Linked DNA regions of Homo sapiens: region 1 is linked to region 2. Evidence: promoter capture Hi-C in 16 types of primary human blood cells and fetal thymus (Javierre and others, 2016). All regions are on one chromosome and are shown on one strand. Each heading gives the region's core, a stretch centred on a gene start or on the middle of the fragment in contact. The rest is flanking DNA. Distances are from core to core; before and after follow the strand shown.

What was found. The method cuts DNA at HindIII sites, captures the fragments that hold promoters and counts their contacts. A CHiCAGO score of 5 or more calls a contact.
Region 1: a fragment that was not itself captured here is called in contact with the fragment with the promoter of MIR1915HG in region 2 in 1 of 17 cell types (total B cells); the score reaches 6.0 in total B cells.

The regions. Positions count from the first base shown.
Region 1 is chr10:22,553,649-22,560,952 of GRCh38, reverse strand. The region is part of intron 6 of PIP4K2A (phosphatidylinositol-5-phosphate 4-kinase type 2 alpha); the gene reads left to right. It overlaps LOC124902393, which reads left to right and starts at 5,658. Exons shown (of 1, transcript XM_047426113.1): 1 at 5,658-6,456. The coding sequence starts at 5,753. The coding sequence ends at 6,370. The HindIII fragment of the contact is 206 bases long and covers 1,170-1,375 here.
Region 2 is chr10:21,493,627-21,501,245 of GRCh38, reverse strand. MIR1915HG (MIR1915 host gene) reads left to right here and starts at 3,986. Exons shown (of 2, transcript NR_160800.1): 1 at 3,986-4,496; 2 at 5,301-7,619. MIR1915 (microRNA 1915) reads left to right here and starts at 4,605; the gene lies at 4,605-4,684. RefSeq lists silencers at 4,506-4,755, 4,966-5,015, 5,066-5,505, 6,319-6,418 and an enhancer at 5,930-6,723. The HindIII fragment of the contact is 8,649 bases long and covers 282-7,619 here.

The sequences.
Region 1 (7,304 bases), core at 23-2,522, 1.1 Mb before region 2:
GAGCGACTCAGCAGGGGACCTGGGGAAGTAAAAGAAAACATAACTGGACTCACTTGATTTCTGGGGGATTTGACCTGACTCTTTAAAAAGCCCATGTTCTTGAGAGAGAGAGTCCTGGGGATTTACACAAATATGCATTTTGTTCATCATCCTGCACAGTTCTTCTCAAAACTCATGTCTGATTTTATTAGGTAAAGTAAAGTATGTGTAATGGAGCCATAGGGTCACAATAAGAAGATCCCTTTTAACATACAGCCTTCTTCCTGAAACCCATTTGAAAGAAAACAGCTGCCCTGCAATTGGCATTTGTGTAACTGTATTGGCAATAATCATTGTTGACACTTTGATAATGGGCTACAAAAAGCCGCCTTGTCGATTCTCAGGCACTGTGAATTGCACCAGCAATTAAGTGACTGTCACCGTCTCCGACGTTTTACCTATTACCAACTGAGGGTTCGAGAGGATTAATCATTAATACCCTTACGTCTAAAAATGCTTTTCGAAACCAGTTTTCAGCATTTCTTTTGTGGTCTTTAAATTGTAACAAATTATAATTAATTACTACCCCTATCTGGTCATCTGGGCTGCCATTGAAGTGAGGTGGCCAGGGCGGCGGGCTCCCCAAACGTGACACAAAAGCACAGCAGCGTATCCTTCTGGAAATCTTTATTTGCCGCTCAGCTAAGAAGTGCCTCTTTTTCCACTGTGGGCGGATCATCGGTTAAAGGGGGGTTGTCAAGCTTTTTAGGCCCTCAATTCAGCTAATGCTTTAACCGCCTTCTGTAAAATTCCTTTTCTTCCGAGATAGAAGGGAATCATTTCCCTTTGCCAGCCAGTGTTAGTTAGGGACACCAATCCTACTACCCAAAGTGCAGGGGAAAGTTTCCCACTAGGGCAGAAGCAGGGCTTCTTTCTCAGACCTTAAAGGTGGCACCAGTAACATCTACCTTCTGGACCAGAGACATTTTATAAAAGGGAGATTTGGGTGAAGGACTCCAAACAGAGGGTTAGGGGATCTGAGTCCCAGCCCTGGGGGCACAGGGCTGCATTAATGGGGTTTGAGTATAGGTCATCTGACTTTGTCCTCGTTTGTAAAATTAAAGGATTTGCTTGCGTCATTGCTCCTCATGCTGTAGTGTTGGTGAGAATCTCTTGTTTCAAATGAAGCTTTCCTGGACCTTCCTCCAGAGATGTGGTTCAGCAGTCGGCCCCACTTGGAGAAGTCCTGGCCTGACCATCACTAAAATCTTCTCTATTCCAGATATAGATTAAGGTGATTGCTATGATTGATGGGGAAAAAAATGTTCTGTTCAGCAAATATAGATAAGAACCCCATAAACCATGAGGGGTATTCTGGAAATGAAGTTTTAAAGCTTCATTTAGAATATCTCGTAACTGGTAAGCATGGCACGTGACAAAAAGAGAGGATCACATGCAGTGACTCTTGTGAGCACTTTCCAGATTTTCACTCAGATGACAGCATTAAAATCCTCAAGGCTTTATGACTTATGGCTTATGGTGCTTCATCAGCTCTCATTTGCCTCAGATTAATTTTTATCTCACTGGAATGAAATCAACTCAGAGTATCCCAAGCACACGTGGAGCACTGCTGTTAGGTATGGGAATGTTTTCACGCTAACAACTCGTAGTTGGTTCTAGAAAAAGTTGGGGTGGAGAGAAGACTTCCAAAATTCAGTATGTGGTCTGAATTTAAACCAAGCTGCTACAGATGTGTAATTCTTAATTAAATAATGATCTTTAACATGGTAGTATTAAACCAGAGATCTAGAGGAGTTAGCAAACTCCTTGAGTGTTCAGCCTTTGACATTTCTTAGATTATCACCATAGATATCTGCGCACCAGAATCTTCTGTTACGACTGGAACGAAGCCATCCCGTAGGTCCTATTTTGTAGGTCTTGTATGCAGTTCAGCTGTCATATCCCAGTTTGTGGAGGAAGACCAAACCGTCACCTTTGACATTACCACATAGAGTTGTCATAAAATATGACAGTATTAAAAAAGGAATAAATTTTACTTTTTACGTATTAGCTTGAGGGAAAATTGCCAACAGCTAGGTCTTGCCAGCCCTAACAGTTATAACTTAACGCTTCTCCAGTTTTGCGCGGCTTACTTACAGCACTGTTTCACAAGTATGTTGAGGTATATTCTCTTTCCACATTCATACATAAACAGATTCAAAATAAAAATTATAAGATGTTCACATCTGGATGCTAGTCACAGATGTGCACATTCTCACTGTTTTCACTGTGAAAATTAGAAGTTATTAATGACCTCTTAGATCATTTCTCAAACCATGAACTTGTATAGACATTCTGCTTATGTAGTTAAAGGAGGTTGGCATATGTACTATTTGTGCAAAACCACCCTTTTTCTTTGCTACTTCTGTATGAACTTTATCCGTATCCACTAATTTGCCTTTTGATGTATCAAATTTGTGGCTTAGATGTTCCAAGAAGCAGAACTGATTTTATTATAAATCTCCAGCATCTCTTATTACCCCAGAATTGATACCAAATATGTTACTCCATCAAATTATTTTTATCCTAGCTCCAACATAAGGATTACCTAAAATTCCTTCCCTTATAGAAATACTTGTGAATTATGTTTTCAGTTCCATAGATGCTGATTTTTATGAAGATTTTTGCAAGCACGGCAAAAGGGGTTTTATTCTTTTTTGCAAGTTTATTTTCATTTGGGTGAGCTTGGAATTACAAGTAAATCAGGAACACAAGCAGTTCTAACATAAAACAATAATTACTACGTATTTTTTATGTGGAGCATTCAGCTCTGAGTGTCACAGTGACAGCGTATCAAAAGGACACCCGGCAGCAGTCTTTGACATTGAGGCTTACAATTAGACTTAAAAAATAATAAATAGGTTGCCAAATGAGCATATCAAACAAAAAATTCATTCCGAAATACAAGTCCTTTAATCACAGAGTACTATGATATGTATTATCCTTTGCATTAAAACCTAGTGCCAAAATCCTGTTTGCATTAGACACTCAAGTGTGACTGGGTGCATTTCTTCTTCCCAGTAAAGTTTCCATCCAGACTAAAATAAAAACTTGGCTCTATATTATAAAGATTTTGGCTCTGTGCATTTTAGGTTCATGTATTTTCTATTTCCAGTTATTAATGGCCATTTACCCATACTGTTGGCTCTTGTTGTATAATTAAAGTTTAGAATGATCATTAAAAATCCAATGATATTTTAGTTTGAATTCTGTTTAATGTTTCAAACTATAGTTTGAAATTTGTGATTTTTAAAAATTTTGTGTCATCTGAAAGATAGTTTTTTAAAATCTCACTAAAATAAAATGTTCATATAACTTCTGGCTTTACTAAACCTTAGAATATCCAATATTGCTCAACTCCATATGAATGACAGCAGTTATGCATCAAATTACAGAACCTCATGAAATAAGCACATATGTACACATACACGTGAGTTAATTCCCACTTCAAACAAACAAAGCATTTAACTCTTTTGGTAAACACATTGTTTTGGTTTTGGTTTTAGAGATTCTGCAAAAGTTCTTAGTCATTTGGAATTTTTAAGCATAAAAGTACTAAATAATATTAAGCAGGAATTTTTTAGGTGTTGCTTTTTAGCTCCTTTTTATCAGTTCTGGGAAGCAAACAGTGCTGCATCTCCTTTGCTCTCATAGAATTCTGTAATTTTTATACCACAGGTCTCTGCTAAAAGGCGGCATGTGTTTAGAAATTCTAAAAATGAGGGCTCTGAACTTTGTAACTGTCCTGATACGTTTTCCCTTTTTTAATCCCAACCCCCTGGCCAAATCTGTCCTTAGAGATCATTGATACCTTGTATTGAACCCTAGGGCGTAAGTAATTCCGTTGAGAGGCTTTTATACACTGAAAGCCTTACGCGTGTGTTGGTTATCTTCAGGCTCTGACTCAGCTGAGTGTGCATCTCACTTCGCACATTCATGTTGTGTCTTAATGACACACAAACTATTTTTGACCATGACCTGTATTGTCACACAGTGTGTTTCTTACTGTTGACTTACAGTAGACTTGCTGAGGCCTGTGATGCTGTGCTTTAAAAGCCAAAAACTTTGCAAAATGAGGGAGAAATGTCTATAATAAATGTATTATATATACACAAATGTTTATAATAAATTTTCTTTTTACAACTCATAGCAAGTTAAATGTTCCCAGTGGGTTCACTGCTCCCTAGGAGTGAGTTCACCATTCCCTAGTATTTTGGTTATATTTTCTGGCTACTAAGATTTCAGCTTCTGTGGATTTTTGCTTTAGGTCAGCAAAACAGCATTCACTAAATTATCCACTATTATAATGTGCTGAGAAAAAACTAACCCATGGAAAATTAAGGTAAGACAGAAGTCAGCAAATTTCTGTCTTTGGCCAGATACGTAAAATCATTACATTTTATTCCATATATTGAATAAAGATCATAAATTTCAAATTCTTTATTACTTCAGGAATTTAACCAGTCCAATTTTTATGATAAGATAGGGACATTTTACTCTCATTTGGGTTTCAGTTTAAACAAAAGGTCTTTTCAGTGAGGTTTCCTACTAGGAATAGCTTTTGCAGGTGATCACAGAGGTTTTTCTAGCTGGTAGCATTCACAATTGAGGTTTGCAAAGCAGTGTAGGGAACTAGAGCCGCCACGACAGGGAGGTTGGCGCCTCGGGCCATGTCACCTTCGATGCATCCTGTCTCATGTGCCCTCTGTGTTCCCCGTGGGTCCTGTGTAGTGAAATGAAATACTAACTTTGCCCTCATGTATGGTAGGTTTGTGTGCAGTGTGCAGTGACAAAAGTGTCTTCCAAATTTGAAGACAGTATGTAGAGAATTCATGTGACATGTTTGTAACTAGCAGATAAAACCTAAAAACAAAGGAAATTTTAAACATCGTTTAAATAAAGCTTGTCGCTCACGGGCTGCATGGGGCCCAGGACGGCTTTGAATGTGGCCCAGTACAAATCCGTAAACTTTCTTAAAACATGATGAGATTTTCTTGTGATTTTTTTTTTTTTTTTAAGCTCATCAGCTCTCATTAGTGTTCACTGATTCTATGTGTGGCCCAAGACAATTCTTCTTCCAGTGTGGCCCAGGGAAGCTAAAAGATTGGACCCCCAGGTTTAGATTACCGACATCATAAATTGTTTTTTTTTTTTAATTATCCAGGTATCAACTAGAAGGTATCCTAAGTTTAAAGACCCTATTTTAGAAGAAATAGACATAGCAAGTTACTATTGCCAGGCACTATGTGCTTTGTGTCATTTGATTTACACACTAACCCTATTACATAGGTACAGTATTATTAATTACCCATTATATAAGTAAGGAAACTGAGGTTTGGGCAGACTAAGCAACTGGCCCAGAACATCACAGCTAGTGTTAAAATGTTAAATATGTCAGTATATTTTTTAAAAGAAAAATCTTGCTCTGGATTGATCAGCGATGCGCTTTTCCTAGATCCATAAGCCATACTTGAGAACATGATTAGCATATAACGACGTTTGTATATAACACACTGTGTGGCAGGCACCATTTTAGGCCTTTTTACATGTGTGAACTCATGCAACCCTCACAACCCTATGTTTGCAAATCCCCCTTTAAAGATGGGAAACCAAGTCACAGAGAGGTAACTTAACTTGCCAGAGTCACATAGCTAATAATTGGAGTTGCGGAGCTACAACCCAGGCAGCCTGGATCTAGTGTGTTCACATAACCATGGGCTTCAGTTTGTCTCCTACGTGGAAAGCTGAGCCATGCCTAGTCGACCTGGGGTCGGGCATCACTCCGTATGACAGTGAAGGGCTCATTTTATCCGAACGGGAAGCAGGACAGCCAGGCTGCGGGGGGAACGGCGTCCCTCTGCTGATGCCTGTGGCTGTGTTTGTGCATTTACACGTCACATTAGCGGAGATGAATGCCACTTGGAATCCAACCCACCGCAGCAGATTACCTCATGCAAGAGAGAAAACAGCCCTGCCTGTGCTAGCCTGGCTCTGCGTTGGGCTGTATTTACTCACGGGGCCTCAGCTGGCCAGGGCCTTGGAGCAGCTCTGGGGCCCCCGACCCGGGCAGGAATCCCAGCTCAGGACTAGACGCACAGAGGAGGACGGGGTGGGGAAGAGCAGTTCCCTCCCATACCCTCGTCCCCTCCCAGCAAGTACAGAGGGTCGTACAGCAATCGTCCCGCCTTACTTAGAGGCTCTGATCTGCACAAAACTGGCCAGAGCTGAATTCAGCGCAAATAAAGACTCGGCCCGCCGCCACTTCAGAAAGGTTGCTGACCGCTGGCTGGAAGCCGGCCTCGGAGAGTCCACAGCTGAGAAGCATTTCTGAGCTGTCTTTAGTTAGCCCTGGGGGTTTCTTCCACCCTCTGGCTGTTTCTGCACTGAACTAGAAAAGATATCAAAGACACTCATTAAAGAACCAGACCCAGTGACTACAAGCTTGGAAAACTCTAAGCGCAAATAATCCAGTGTTTAAAAGCAAAGTGTAGAATCTGTTGCTACATTAAGCTGTCGCTGCCCACAGTTAATTTTCTGCTGCTCTGCAGACGTCATCTTTGTAGGCAGTTTTACACCAAGAGTTTATTAAGTTCATTAAATCATAGTATAGTTTTCCACATTTAAAAAAAAGATGTTTCTAATATAAGCACTGCTCATTATCAGAGAGATATATTGAAATTTCTTTTAAAAAGCTAAGTAGTAAGATTTTCTTGAGAGTGAATCATTGTCAGGTGACTTAACCTTTGTCATCTCGTTTTTTTCTTTTTGTTTTTGAGGTAGGGTCTTACTATGTCACCCAGGCTGGAGTGCAGTGGCGCGATCATGGCTCTCTGCAACTTTGACCTCCCGGGCTCAAGCGATCCTCCTACCTCAGCCTCCCAAATAGCTGGGATGAGAGGCACACACCACCACGGTTATCTCATATGTTTTATTACTTTTTTGTAGAGATGGAGTCTCACTATGTTAGCCAGACTGGTCTCGAACTTCTGGGCTCCAGTGAACCTCCTGTCTCAGAGTCCCAAAGTGCTGAGATTGCAGGTGTGAGCCGCCACGCCCAGCCTATCTTGTTCTTAATTTAAAAAGAACAGTTAAGTTTTTGTAAAAAAAAAAAAAAAAAAAAAAAAGTTTTTCAACCTGTAATACCCATTTCAAGTCTGTGCGCTTTATTAAATGCTCACAGTGATGATGATGACGATGGGGGTGGTGATGGGGATTATAAGCACCACTATTTGAATCTGTCACATGGTTTCTGATTGAGTTCCCAG
Region 2 (7,619 bases), core at 2,737-5,236:
CTGGTGTAGAGTACCTGTTGCTGGAAGCTGTGTGGGGAGCCTCTGGCCCCCTGGCCTATTGTAAGTCCTGGGGTTAGGTCGGGCTCCCCCTGGGGCTGCTGGATTCACCTGTCATTACGCTCACTGCCCAGGGACCCTGACAAACCTCCACAATGTGGGGCTGAACAAGGGCGCTTAAGGTTCACTGATCTGTGTGTAGAACTTTGCAAAACTGCAAATAAGCGAGAAAATTTGGCTATTCTTGTGACGGGAGATACAAGTTTGCACTTAACATGGAAGCTTGAGAAAAAGAAGGGGAAAAACCCTTCTGGCCCAAAGCCCCACTGTAATCTCCAGAACAATTTCATTTCCTCTGCAGCACCCTGGCTACCCTCGCCCAGGCCTCAGAAAGGTCAGGGGGAGAAGGAGCTTAAAAGCAGGGGCGGGGACGCAGAGGGGTGGCTAGGCCCTTGGCCAGGTAGCAGGTGAGGGCCGGCTGGGTGATGCGAGGGGCCAGGATGGAAGGCCGCAGGACGGGGGAGGGGCAGAGCCACGGCTTTTGGAAGGGCTTGGTGTTTTCTAGAGGGCTTTTTCTTAGGAATTTGCACGGTCCGCCTCTGGGGCGGCTTATTGGGGCTCTCCCCCGCCCCTGCTAGCAGAACAGGTCGCAGGGAGCTCAGGTTTCCGCCGAAGCCTCCAGCCGCCAGGCCGCCAGCACTCCGCCGGCCTCTGCCAACAGGCCTTTCCCGCTTGCTGAGAAAGGGAAAAGCGCGCGCCCCGGGCCCTGCAGGCTGAGATCACGTTTTTGCCGAGCGACTCCGGTACTCCCGGGGAAGCCAAACTGCCCCCTAGCAGCTGCGTCAACCTCGCCCGGCTGCGCGGCCCGGAGAGCGTGTTCCCCGGAAGGGGCTCCCGCAAGCGGCAGCCGAGATCCCCAGTGGTTGCGCGGCTGCCGGGAACCCGCGGGTCTCAGAGAGAAGCAGGCCGCGGGAAGCATTACCTCTCCCCTCCAAAGGGGAACTTGGAACTTTTGAACCCTTTAAAGTGATTGATCATGCTCCACCAGAGAGCGGCTCCACCCCCGCCGCCTTCCCTTGTCACCTCGGCTCTAAGTGTGCGTGGAGGTCGCGCGCGGCGCGCGGGGTCGTGCATTTGGCGCTCTGTGCTGCCAACGTGAGCACCCAGCACCTGAGCGGCTGTCGCGATTTTGGAGGAATCCCGATCTGAGAGCCCAGAACTGGGACATTGGTGCGTGCCTCCTTGCCCACAGCCCTCTAGGTGCAACACGCCAGCGACAATTTTTCCCAGGAAATCCGTCCCTGCGCCCCGGCCCCCCTCCAAGGATGTCCTCGCAGGAGCCGGGCTCCGCACTGGGAGGCTTCAGGGAACGGAGCACTGGGGCTCAAAGCCTCCACGAGTTAAGCTGATTATTAATTTGGGCTGGTGGGAGCCAGTAACACGCTCGACGCCTTTGGCTTTGGGAATTGTCCGGGAGCTGGGACGGAGGCAGGAATGACCCAGGGTTGCGACTGGGAAATGCGAGTTGCGGAGGCTCCCGGACGTAGCTGAGTGGGCTGGGTAGAACTCCCAGGGCAAAGGTTGGCTCTTCCTCGCCCCCAAATAAATTCTTAGTTAACTAGTTTAGACTAAACACATTAATAGTATTAAGTGGTGAAAATAGACAGGGTTGAACGTGGGGGCATGTCAACTGGACCCAGACCTGGTCATACTTCTCCTCTGGTGACAAATCAGGGTGCTTCCAACACGAAAACAGAAAATAGAAATGTAACATTCAACTGGACGAATTAATTTTTGACGGATTTACGGTATGATTTCCTTTCAAGCAGTATTCATTGGTTCTTTCCATCCACAGTGCGGTCCAAAGACAGAAATATAAACAAGCACTTTATGCTTTGCGGAAACCCCTTAACAGTATCTCCCAAAGAAAGATCAAGACACTTTGTGAATTTTCCCCAGATAATGCCTCATATTCCGAATGACTGATCAGAGAACTCCGGTATTGTTAAATAAAATGAGAGGAAGGCGAGTGACGTGGGAGTCGAACAATGGCATTTCTGAATCTGTTTGCTTGATTGACATTTGGGAGCTTCATGACCCCAGAGAATAGGACTCATTACGGTGAATACACCAAAACATCAACCAAGATTAGAACTCTAGATGCTGTTTTAATCCCATTCCAGTCCAAATTATAGTGGGAAAATATAAAATCCAAGTGCAGAGAATCACTCCGTTATATATTGACCTAAAGTTTTAATTGTACTAAGGGGGAAATAAAAGTGGAAACCCTCTATACTTTCCAGAATTTTAGATAGAGCACTGACAGGGAAAATGCATGGATTTGGTAGCGGAGGTACTAAGAATATTTGTGTGGTATACAACATGTCATACTTGGGAGACACTTTATTGGAAAAATAAGTAGAGAGTTTTTTGTATGTATGAGAAAAATATCATAACCATTTCCACTTAAAAAGTGAAGATCATTCTGATGCCCCAAAATAACTGAGGCTAAGAAATAATTAGATACCTTAAAGCTACAGTCTAAATTTCCATGACTGTTTGGAAGACTTCTCTCCAACGCGGGAGGGGAATTTGTTTTTTAATGTCAAAGGTTGTGTTAGCATGTACATTTAACCCAGGAAATTGTGAGAACTCTCTTCAACTCAAGTTGGAAAAAGGGAATGTGTTTGAGCAAAGTCTATTTTTAACAACAGAAAAGTGTGAGTTAAAGTGGACTGTGTGTTAGGTTGGGAATATAATCCATGGCAACTTCACTATACAAGTATTTTTGATTCTTCAGTGGAACTCATCCTCAAATTTTAGTAACTTGAAAAATTGAAGTCTTAAGTATTGTGTATTAAACTGAACCAAGAGATCACAGAAAGACAAAGCTATGGTAAAAGATGTTATAGTTATATTCTCATAGATTTAGTAGGAAAATCACAGCAAAGGAAATGCACCAGGAAGATATGAAATAGAGGAAATATGTTACAAATAATGAAATAGAAGGAGTTGCTGCACAATATAGCTTCACAATCTTATATTTTGAGGGGTAGGTTTTAATGAGAAGCCTCTGCATTGCATGGGAACTGGGAGTCGTAAGAATTATTTATGCAGTAAGAAGGAAAAAAATTAATTATTAGGAGCTCAATAATCACCAAATAAACTCTGAGCTTGGAGGTTAAAAATAGACGGCTATCTTCATGTTCAATTATACAGTATCAATTACTAATACAACTGATGTTTCAGTGTCTCAGCGAGAACAGATACCATCTTCTATGGAGATATCTTGGTATTAATTAATGACTGCTTTATTCTCATTATTCACAAGGAAAAATAGGGGTCGTGTCACATTAAAATTAAGATTATCTTAGTTTATCTGGGCTCTTAAACAAAGATCATTCAAAGTAATTATACTTTGAATTAATCGAGGTAGGCAATTTATCTCGTTATTTTTTTTTGTTCAAAGACAGGAAAATAAAGATCAGAAATAAGCAAAGTTTCATTTTGAAGATAGAAAGAACCAAACAAACATGTCTTGACTTTTGCAGTATTTCCCTTGCTAAAGGGGGAATGAGGGAACTGTAAAAGACGTGACTTTGCAAAGTCAAGTCCTTTTTAAAAGACTCGGATCGAAATTCTTGCTATGCAACAAGGATTCAAGTTTGATTAATTTTCTGCAAGCGACGTGACAGCGGTGTTTTAAAAGATTAATTAAAATTGAAGTGATACGGAGCAGGAATTCAACCTGCAGAGGCGTCCCTGGCGCCTTGGGGGGCTTTGTAAGCGAGTCCCAAGCCCGAACTGCGGGCTTTCCCGAGCCTGGGACGCAACTCCCCGTCTCCTGGAGAGGAACGCGGAATTTGGCAGGGCGCCCGCCTGGCCGCCTGGCATCCTGAGCTGGCCGCCAGCTCTCGGGGGGTGGGGACTGGGTGTGTCCTGGGGAACCCGCTGCCGAGAGAGCAGCTAGCGCAGCTCGCGACGAGCCATTGAGGACCAGGGTCGCGCCGAGAGGCCGGAGGGGGCTCCAGGCAGCCTGGAGCTGACGGCGCCGGGCTGCGTCCTCTTCACCTGGGGGTGGGGGGTGGGGGCACGTACTTTGTGACCAGGATGGTGCCGAGCCCCCTCTACGGCGGGAGCTTGCAGGGGTGCGGGGGTGTGACTGGCGCTCCGCGGACTCGTGTCCACAGTACAGAGGACATGTAGGGTTCGGCCGGGGCGCGGCTGCACCGGGGCCTGCCTCGCGGACCTGGACTCGGGACTCCGGGCGGCCCTGCCTGGTGCCATTGCCTCAGCCAAGTCTCCCACCTCTCTGCTCGGTTTCCCGCCCCACCTTTCCCCTACTACCGCATCCCTGTCCCCTCGCTTCCCTCCGCGATGTCTCCATCCGAGTAAGAAACGAAGCTGAACGCATTGGTAACTGTGCTCAAGAAGATGCAATCGCGGGAGCCCTCAGGGTGGCGCACGGCGGAGAGGCGACGCGGGTGGCGCTGCAGAGGGTACGGTGGGGGGCGGGGAAGAGGGGGGCGTTCGTGTGCAATTAGCCTCCCCAGGGCGCGGACCACGGTGTCCCCTTCTCTCCAGCTGGGGGTCTCGGGTCCTGGCGCTGAGAGGCCGCACCTTGCCTTGCTGCCCGGGCCGTGCACCCGTGGGCCCCAGGGCGACGCGGCGGGGGCGGCCCTAGCGACCTGCGGCGGCGCCGGGAAAGCCCTGCCTCTGCAGCGGGTCCCAGGGGTCGGGGCCTGGAAGGGTCCCTGGGAATGCTCCGCGCCGAGAAGGCTCTGTGGTTTCTCCTCCCCCACACGTCTCCCTCTCCTCCCCTCTTCCCGGGGACCTCAGAGGTGGCGGGGAAGTGGGAAGGGAGGCGGGCTTGCAGACCGTGCAGGCTGGGGAGCCGGAGCTCGGGAGTTGGGGGAGTCCGAGTGAGAACGGAAGCGCGTGGACGCGATGGAAGGGGCCGGGGGAAAGGGGGACGGCACTGGGGAGGGCTGGGGTGCGGGGCAGGCGACAGTCCCTTCCCCTCCGAGCGGCGCGGGGGACCTCTTCCCCGGGGAACCCCCACCCAGCCGTTCCCAACCTCGAGAACAAAGGGTCTGGGAAGCACGGTCGGGGTCGGGGAGCGGAGGTGGAGGGAGGCAGGAAGGCAGGCGGTGGGGGCAGGGGAGGGCGCCTCCCCACGTTTCCTCTCGCGGCCGAATGATGGAAAGCTCCCTCCAGCAAACGCCTCACTGAGGCCGCTTCTGAATCCGGGAGGGTTCGGGTTCGTTACCTAACGGCTGCACTTCGCTCCCTTCCTCCCCCAGCGTCCCCACCCCCTCCGGGGACCGGGGCCCCGGAGCTGCCAGGCCCGCTGCACGCGGCGGCGCGGGAGAAACCACGGGGCAGCAGCGCCCCCTGCAGGTGCCGGGCGCCTCCGCAGCCGCTGCGCGGACCCGACTCTTAAGGTGGCACCACCGGGTTCCCAGCCCGCGCGCAACCCGCAGCCCTGGCTCCATCCGCCGCACTTCTCCCTGTAGCGGCGGGCCTGACCGTCCGGAACGGCCGGAGTGTGCTGATGCCTGCTGCTATCTGCTTGATCCCTTCACCCTACCTCTCATCCAGGACTTCTTCCGCGGATGCGCAGCTAGCGATTTCGACAGGCGAGATTGAAAATTCCGGGCGAGTATATGAGGTTGAGTAAGTCCCGCTTCAGGGAGGAACGACCAGAATGACATTTCTTTAAGCCTAAATCAAACTTTTATTTTCGTTTATAAAAAGCAGAAGGCCAGCAGGAAAGGGTCGCGGAGGACTGGCACATCCACAACCGTAGGACTCTTGGATCCAAGTTTTTAGGCTGAGACTGGGCGGTCCGGGGTTCTCCTTCGGCGCTCACACCCCGCAAACTCGTGGGCAGTGCAGTGCTGGAGGCCGGGGGCAGTGGCGGACCCGCAGGGTAACCTTGTCTCGCGCACCTCCCGAGCCCCCAGCAGCCCACTCTCGTCCGAATGCTTTGTTTATTTGGTGACACCAGGGAACGTGGAGAAGAAGATCGAAGTTCAGTTTTTCTTTTTTCTTTATTTTAAATATTTTTCTTAACTAAATGGTATGTTTATGTGAACCCATCATCTCTTGGAATTAAGTGTCCTCAGCGAACTCCAGATTCCTAGGGGAAACCTACGTGCCCAGAGCAGGAAACGCACAAGTCAATTCAGGTTCCGGTGCCATCCGCAGTAAATTCCCTTCCTTTTGCTCCAAATTCCTCCTCTGCGTCCAGGAGAGGGACCCCCGGGACTCCCGCACACCCAGGACCGGGAGCGGCAGAGCAGAGGGCGGGTGCGAGGGCGCGAGGGAAGGGAGGCGGCCTGCGGACCTGGGGCGCGCAGTTTCCCGGCTCCGTGGGAACCTCCAACCCCGGGGCGCGCGGCCTAGGCTCCGCCCTGCCAGGCTTGGGGCCGAGCGGCCCACCTAGTGGGTCCTGACCTGGGGAAGCCGAGTCCGCGCGCGGGTCGGGCCGCGACGAGGGAAGCTCGCCTGGGCAAGTGCCGCGCGGGGTCAGACCCACCCCAGGGGTTGCAAACCGCAAGCGAAAGTCGAGAGGGGCTGGAGCTTTCCCTCTGATCCGTTTTACACTGTGAAAACCGCAGGCCTGTCGCCTAGGCGGCCACTTTTAAATTGGGAAGCAAATAGACGAAAAACCAAAACAAACGTACGAGCTGACTTTTCCCAGCTAAGTTTCCCCTCAATAAAAAGCCCGCTTTCTGGGAAAGACAGAAACTGATCCGCGCTCACGATTGCTTTCTTGGAGATTCTGGGGGCACTGGGGCGCGCAGGAGGCGCGGCGACAACCCCAGCGCGCATGGGGCAGCCTGGACTGTGCCCCTCTTACCAAGCTCCTTCCCAGGCTTCTCCGTGCTTCTCTCTCCACTGGGGTCCCGCCTCTCCACGGGTCACGCCGAGGCTATATGCTGCTTGCAAGGGGTCCGCGCTTTCTCGTTCGGCGGGAAAGGCACATGTTGGAGCTCGATGTTGGGGCTCAGGGTGTGGTTGATTTGTCTGCTGATCTGGGTTTCTTCCCAGCACCGGGCAGGAAGTGTAGGAGTTTGGGTCGCCAGTCCAGGGACTCGGGAAACTTCCAGGCCAACCAGAAGAAACACTTGCAGACACCTTTCGAATGTCACAGTTTTCCCCAGGGGAAAAAGCAGAAGTTGCTGGGCACATCACCCAGCACCCGGGCAAACTCTCCACTTACCTCGCGCCCTGCTAGGGGGTGTTGGGGGCCCTCCGGGAACCCCTAGATGAGCAAGCAAAGTTGCAAGAAGTGGGGTGGGGAACGCTCACCCGATAAACCATGCACCAAACTTAATCAGCCTGTAATGCTTACTCTAAATCTAGGCCCATCTAGGCCAGGTGGGCTGAGTCTTGGGATAGTGGGTGTCTCCTTCCTATGTTGATACATTAAGGATTCCATATGGACAATTATTTTTAGTCAAATTTGTGGTCCTGGAGATAGAAAGAGGAGAAGAAGAGAGAAGAAAGACAGAAGAGCTTTATTGTTCTTTTTTTTTTTTTTTTTTTTTTGAGATGGAGTCTCGCCCTGTTGTCCAGGCTGGAGTACAGTGGCGCCATCTTGGCTAACTGCAACC